2 separate regions of the Homo sapiens genome follow, and region 2 is linked to region 1. The links are contacts of gene promoters, found by promoter capture Hi-C in human tissues and cell types (Jung and others, 2019). All regions are on one chromosome and are shown on one strand. Each heading gives the region's core, a stretch centred on a gene start or on the middle of the fragment in contact. The rest is flanking DNA. Distances are from core to core; before and after follow the strand shown.

Region 1 (3,597 bases), core at 936-3,435:
GTAGTTGGGGAGGAAAGGGGAGAAACAATAGCAAGACCTTTCTAAAGGGAGCTTGTAGGTGTTTTTGTACTATAAACTCAAGTGGTTTTAAAACGAAACCCTTTTGGCATATAAAGGTCTTACTCAGGAAATGCTGAAATCCTAGATGTAGAGTTTTAATACATATTTACCTGAAATTCTAGGAATGCAAGGGTTCAAATGGACTAAGCAATATCATGGTACTCTCAGCTGGGTCCTTTTTCTAAAGGCAAACTGAAAATCTTTACCAAGCCCAATGCATTCCTTTTAAATCCCATTCATATTGTTCATTTCACCAACGAGCAGGAGGAGGGGACGCCAGGAAGGCAATCGTGGTTCTGAAATACTTTTCTGAACGTGGAGAAAAAGTTTTGTTTGTCCTTCAAGGGCATAAAGAAGAAATAAGAAATCCTCTTCCCTCTCTTTGGCCTCCCCCAAGCAAAGAGCAAGACTCTCACCAAAGCCCGCTTAACATTTTACAAACACACAAGGACAAGACAGACAGCCGGACAAGAGGGCTGGGCTGGAAATGTTGCCCTATGTTGGCTTAGCTAGCTCTGGTGCTGAGAATAAGCACCAGATTGACCTCGAGTGGTGCCCTAGGAGGCCAGTTGAAGTGGAGCTCCTTGACCAAGGCCTGGCTAAGTGGCATCAGATGACCACGCTGACGGTCATATTCTGGCCATGGGGGGCTATCTTGCGGGGCCAAGCGACCAACAGTTTGCGCAGCTCCTCGCGGAAGCTGTCGTGCAGCCAGGCGTAGATGAAGGGGTTGTAGCAGGCCGAACTCATGGCGAGCCAGTGGCAGAGCAGCTGCACCAGCCCAAAGGCGTAAGGGTCGATGGCGTGGGGGTCGAGGTCCCGCAGCAGGTTGAAGACGTGCAGCGGCAGCCAGCAGACGGCGAACACCACCACGATCACCACCAGCAAGCAGAAGGTGCGCCGGCGCCGAGCGCGGTCCCAGTCGGCCTGGCTCTGGGTCACGCAGCCCGGCACCACGCGGTTGCGGAGCTTCACTGACACCCGGACGTAAGACAGGAGGATGACCAGCAGAGGGAGCAGGTAGGTGACCAGCAGCAGCCCCCAGGCGTAGAGCTGGCGCTGGCGCTCCTGGGAGCCCCAGAACTCCTCGCAGAGGCGCACGTCGTGCGGCTTGAGCTCCACGTGATAGGTGTGCACGGCGGCGGGCAGCGCCAGCACCGCGGACAGCGCCCAGATGGCCAGCACAGCGTAGGCGCTGAGGCGCAGCGAGATGCGCCGCCTCAGCGGGTGCACCAGCACGACGTAGCGGTCCACTGCGATGGTGGTGAGCGTGAACACCGACACATAGACGGTGACCGGCTGCAGGAAGAAGACCAGGTGGCACAGGCCGCCGCCGAACACCCAGCCGCGTGGCTCGAAGGCATAGGCCAGCGTGAGCGGCACGCAGGCGGTGCACATGAGCACGTCGGACAAGGCCAGGTTGCCGATGAGGAAGTTCGTCACGTTGTGCAGCCGGCGCACCCGCGCGATCACCAGCACCAGCAGGCAGTTGCCCACCAGCCCCACGACCACCACGACGCTGTAGAGCAGCACGATCAGCCCCTTCAGCTGATGCACCAGCTGCAGGCTCTGGAAGGGCGTGACGGCTGGAGCGTCCGCGCCAGCCACCGACCCGTTGCCCGCCGAGGCCTCTGCGCTCTGGTTGGCGGGAGTTGTGACCGCCGGCGGCAGCCCAGAAAATAAGTCAGAAACCCTGGGGCCCCGAGTGGTCGATGAGGCCATGGCCACCTGTTCAAAGGTAATCAAAGTCCGTCACTTCCCTTGCCATACTCCATCCGACCTCCTACACCAGCCGCGCCCCTCCCCCATCGCCTGAGTCCTCCCTTGGGAATAACCGGCCACAGAACAACAGCAAAAGTAGCAAAAAGTGTTGTCCTCTCACCTCTGTAAAATAAACCTAAGCACGGTTAGAACATACGGTTTATTTAAACGCTTCCGCCTCTATTTACGGTCCTCGCAGTCCACGCAGGCAGACTCAGGAGCGCGATCCTACCTGGGAGTGGGGTTTGGAGAGCGGGAAAGCACTCGCGGGAAGAAGGGGCAGAATTTCTGCTGGCCCTCGGTAGTCCTCTGCCCACGTCGGTGATCCGGTCTCGCTTCTCCGCGGGAGCTGAACGGATCCAAATGTTTCCCAGTGGGCTAGCAGCTTCTTAGAGGGACTGGGAGCGCCTCCCCTCAGCTCCGCCCCCCACTCCAGCTCCCATGTATGGAAAATAGGGGTGGAGCGCGCTCTGCCATGCTCGGTGCTTAGAGAACTAGTGAAGAGGACAGTGTGGGGAGGATGGAATCCGAAACGGGAGGAGGGGCCGGCAAACCTGGCCAGAGCAGCGAAGAGGACGAATCTCTACTGCAGGAGCTTGCACGGCCCCTGGAGGGTCAGGGTCCGGAGGAGCGCACAGTGGAGGAGGGCGGAGGAGAGGCGCGAAGCGTCAGGCTATCGGGAGGAGCCGGTGCAGTCTTAGGAGGGAAGGAGCGGGGAAGGAAGTAGCGGTGGGAGATTGCAATGCAGCTGGGGGCTTGAGAGAGGCACGACTGACCCGTTCTTAAAGGCTGGATCCTGCCTAGCGGCCAGGTTGCGGAGGGCAGAGACGCTAGAGGGCTCGGGCTGGGATTTAACAGCAGAGCCTGGAGCTGGTCGCGGACCTGAGGACCCTCACCCTCCCGTGGCCCCGCCACACGAGCCCCCTGCTTGGCTGCAGCGCGCTCAGCGGGCAGCGGGTCCGGCCAAGCCAAAGGCAGGAGTCAGCACCACGGACAGCTTCCGCTGGATCTGCCGCCCCTCGGGCGGATGATGTGGGGAGGAGCAGGGGAAAATGACTAGGGAATTCCTGCCCCTCTCTGGATCCGGGTGTTTGGGGAAGGAACCTGGTCCGGTTCAAAGACCTGCCTCGCTGCCTGCTTTCTGGGCTGGGGCTGAGAAGAGTAGGGTGGAGTGGAGGCAGCTGAGCCGGGGGCCTGGGGGTCGGAGACTCATGACTTTTGCTCCTCTTGGTGGTCACCGCACTCAGTGCCAAGGACGGCGTCGTCTTTTACCTCCCGGGGTCAGAAAATGCAGCTCTCCTGCCAGTTATTCTACACAGGCACACTTCAGTCTGGCCCAGCGACTCCCCGGCTCACCCTTTCTCTCGCTTTCTTTCTCGGCTACCGCGACCTGTGCCGTATCTGGCTGCTTCTCCCAGCACAGAGTAGTTCCTGGACTGAGACTTGACCCCTCCCTCCTTGACTGAACACCCACAGGCCTCTTCTCTTCATTTTAGGATTTTTTAAAAATACTGGTAATTGCAGATTTCAGCTAGGGTAACAAAAGTAACAAACATTTGAGAAGCTTAGGCGTTTCATAAAATCTTCAGTAGTATTAAGTCCTCATTGAAATGCAAATTAGCCTGGCCCACGGGGCAAGAGCCAGGGGAGGAGGGGCCTTTGTAAGCTCCCTCCTTAGAAGCTATCTCATTCCCTCAGCCTCTTGTTTCCTTTTTCCAGAGCATGGAGCTTCATTGTCTCCTCTCTGATAAGTCCTTGTACTTTGTCCTCTGGCTG
Region 2 (3,480 bases), core at 397-2,896, 36 kb after region 1:
CAATTTAACAGTTCTCATAAACCCAAATCTCTGGGCTCCCAAATACATTGCACCGGTGAGGCTAATGCTAATGTTGCCCTTTGGAAACTTCAAAAACACAGGTGACCTTCTCAGTAATAACCTCCTTCCTTACAGCTTGTCTGTCATTTTGTCTACACAGAGATATGCTTGGATATGGTGGGGCCTCAGGGCTCACAATGATGCCAGAACTTAGAGCTGCCATGCAGATGGGCAGTGGGCAGGTAAAAAGAGGCTTATGTGTGGTTGTGTGGTTTCTAGTTTAGAAGACGGGGAGAATGGTGTTTCCAAAGACTGGAATAGGGTCGCTGGTTGGTACCATCTTATTTCATCATCATTTCTCCCCTGTTCAGCCCAGCGATAAGCATCTAGTAGAGGCTTAATCATATTTGTGGATGATTCAATAATTGAGTAAATGAAATTGAAGTCAGAATATGCTCTCAGAGGAAGGAAGGGAATAAATCAGGGATCAAACACTCCACTCCATCAGGGACTCTATTGGTCAGGTTTCAATTGCAGCTCAGTTCCCCTTTATCTAGCTAGTTTAAGGAGAAGTGAATTTAAGTCAGGGAATTGGGTACTTACAGGGGCATTGGAAGGGATGGAGGAATAAATAGTCTGTAGGCTGAGAGGAGATTCCTAAAAAACATCACAGAACTGCTCCGCCAAAGGAAGGGAATTGACACTTCTGCTATAATCAAAAAGCTGAGGAGGTACCAAATAGCTACTGGCTGGAGGTCTCCACCTCTGGTGGCCAGGGTTCAGGAAGCTGCTCCTAGGGCTGTTGGCTCCAGAGTCATGTTGTGCCTGTTGGAATCCAGCACGGAAAATAGGTGCTGCAAACCTCCCCACTTAGTTCTGAATTCATGTCCCAAGCAAGTGCATCTGATTGATAAATCTGAATCCCATCCAGAGCCATTCCTGCAAGGAGCTTGGGACAGGCAGATCTTAGCTTCCCAGCCTCTACCAGAGAGGAGGGTATCCTAGAAGTGGGTTGGAATGGATGCTGAGTGAACCCACCTACCATCTCTACTACGAGTGCCAATGTGGCTGGTATAAAACAGTGGGTGTGGTACCTGAGGGAGATTCAAAATGATTCAAGAACATTGTGCTGGCCAGGTGAGACACATCTCAGCTACACCTGCCTCACTCTGGGACCATGAGGCTCCTGCCATGAACAAAAGCTAGAGAGGCTGGAGGAGAGCTCTAGGTGAATGCCCCAAGTAGGGAGGAGGGGAGGAAGAAAAGCCAGTAAAGCAAGCATGAAAGGAAAAGGAGCAGGGAAGGAGAGAAACCAGGAAGATGGGAGTGGCCACCTGTATTAGGGTTCTCTTAGAGGGACAGAACTAATAGGAGATATATGTGTGTGTGTGCGTGTGTGTGTGTGTGTATATATATATATATACACACACACACACACACGCACACACACACATATATATATGGGAGTTTATTAAGTATAAATTTACATGATCACAAGGTCCCACAATAGGCCGTCTGCAAGCTGAGGAGCAAGGGGAGCCAGTCTGAGTCCCAAAACTGAAGAACTTGGAGTCCGATGTTCAAGGGCAGGAAGCATCCAGCACAAGAGAAAGATGTAGGCTGGGAAGTTAGGGCCATCTCTCCTTTCCATGTTTTTTTTCTGCCTGCTTTATATTTGCTGTAAGATGACTAGATTGTGCCCATCAGATTAAGGGTGGATCTGCCTTCCCCAGTCCACTGACTCAAATGTTAATCTCTTTTGGCAACACCCATACAGACACACCCCGGATTAATGCTTTGTATCCCTCAATCCAATCAAATTGACACTCAGTATTAAACCATCACACACCCATCATCAGAGAAGAGGAGGCCCCTGTAAGATGTACAGGGGCAGCAGGGGAAAGCCGCACTGGAGGGAGTGAAACAGGCCCTTTGGCAGGACCTGGTAAAGCTGAAAATGCACACCCAGTCTCCTTTTGAGAGACTCACACACAGCCTCAGGGAGGCAGGCACAGGCACAGCCACCAGAGTTAGGGAGAAATTCCCACCCGGATGTCCAGCAGTCATTGTAAAGTGGTGGGTACACAGCATGTAATACTTCACAGTTAAACGGAAGTATATGTGTGTGTCCAGATCATATATGTCAACACAGATTTCAAAAACAATGTTGGATGGGAAAAGCAAGATGACAAATGTGTCTAGAACAATGCCATTTGTGTCAATTTTGAAAACACACGTATGAATCCTGCTCAAGGACATGGAAGCATGTGTGTACTTATTGCAGACTGGAAGCATCCACAGTAACCTCCTGCTACAGGTTAACTCGGGATGGTTGTGGGGAGTGAAATGGGATTGGTCAACATAGCTTAACAGGACTGTACCTCCATTGCTAATGCTTATTTATTTAAGTATGGAAGAAAATAGGATGTTAACAGCTACTAATTTAAGTGGTGACAATGTCTTGGTTATATTCTTTTTGTACTTTGGTTGGTGGTTTAGATTTTTGCTCCCCCAAAAGCTCATGCTGAAATTTGATCCCCAGTGTTGAAGGTGGGGCCTAATGGGAGGTGTTTGGGTCAGGGGGGTGGATCCCTCATGAATGGCTTAGTGCTGCCCTTGAGATAATGAGTGAGTTCTCATTATCTCCACAAGAGCTGGTTGTTGAAAAGAGCATGGTACCTCCCCCTCGCTCTCTTGCTTCCCCTCTTGCCACGTGAGCTCTGCACATGCCCACTTCCCTTCACCTTCTTCCATGAGTGGAAGCAGCCTGAGGTACTTATCAGAAGCTGAATCAATGCCAGTGCCATGCTGCTTGTATGGCCTGCAGAACCATGAGCCAAAGAAACCCCTTTTCTTTATAAATGGCCCAGCCTCAGATATTCCATTATGGCAACACTAAACAGACTAAGACAAGTACTTTTCCATGCAATTTAATTTCTCACAAAATAGATTTTTTTAAGAAAAGAGAGTGGGTGATTCTGAAGTGGTTTTGCACATTTAATGCCACTCAATGCACATTTGTTTCTTACTGACCTGTTTGGATGCTATGATTGTTGTCTAGTGGGAGAGGCAGGATTTGCCAGGGCCAAGGTTTAGGCAAATTGATGGGGCTTCAAGCAGCTCATCTCTGCATTTGGTGATGCAATCTAAAAACATCCCAGCTCTGCTGCTCTGGAGGGCAGGTAGACAGGCTCAGCAGACTGGCAGGGACGTGGACAGGTACCCTCCACCAGAGCCTGGCTGCCCCCATTCTCAGGATTAGTGGTCCCCTCCAATCCCTCCTCTGAACTTTTCCCCCTCACCCTAAGGAGTCAGAGGGCAATGAGAAAAGTATCCCAGAGAGCAAGGCAGTTGTTCTCTCCAAGGAGAACACATGAACTAAAGCAGGGAAGTAGAGTCCTCACAGGAGACAGAGCCTCGACTCTTTCTGGTGAGCCTGACCTTGTCCTGGTTGCTTATCTCAGGCTATCTCCTCCACTT

Evidence for each region. The method cuts DNA at HindIII sites, captures the fragments that hold promoters and counts their contacts. A contact is called where the count stands out against the background at its distance.
Region 2: a contact is called between a fragment that was not itself captured here and the fragment with the promoter of PRLHR in region 1, in 1 of the 25 tissues and cell types used here (dorsolateral prefrontal cortex).

Annotation. Positions count from the first base shown.
Region 1 is chr10:118,593,463-118,597,059 of GRCh38, forward strand. It overlaps PRLHR (prolactin releasing hormone receptor), which reads right to left and starts at 2,186. Exons shown (of 2, transcript NM_004248.3): 1 at 2,054-2,186; 2 at 1-1,788. The coding sequence starts at 1,782. The coding sequence ends at 670. RefSeq lists enhancers at 1,145-1,953, 1,954-2,762, 2,763-3,571. The HindIII fragment of the contact is 7,132 bases long and covers 1-3,597 here.
Region 2 is chr10:118,629,548-118,633,027 of GRCh38, forward strand. No RefSeq gene overlaps it. Among named protein-coding and RNA genes, the nearest start is that of PRLHR, 36 kb to the left of the region's middle. The HindIII fragment of the contact is 7,725 bases long and covers 1-3,480 here.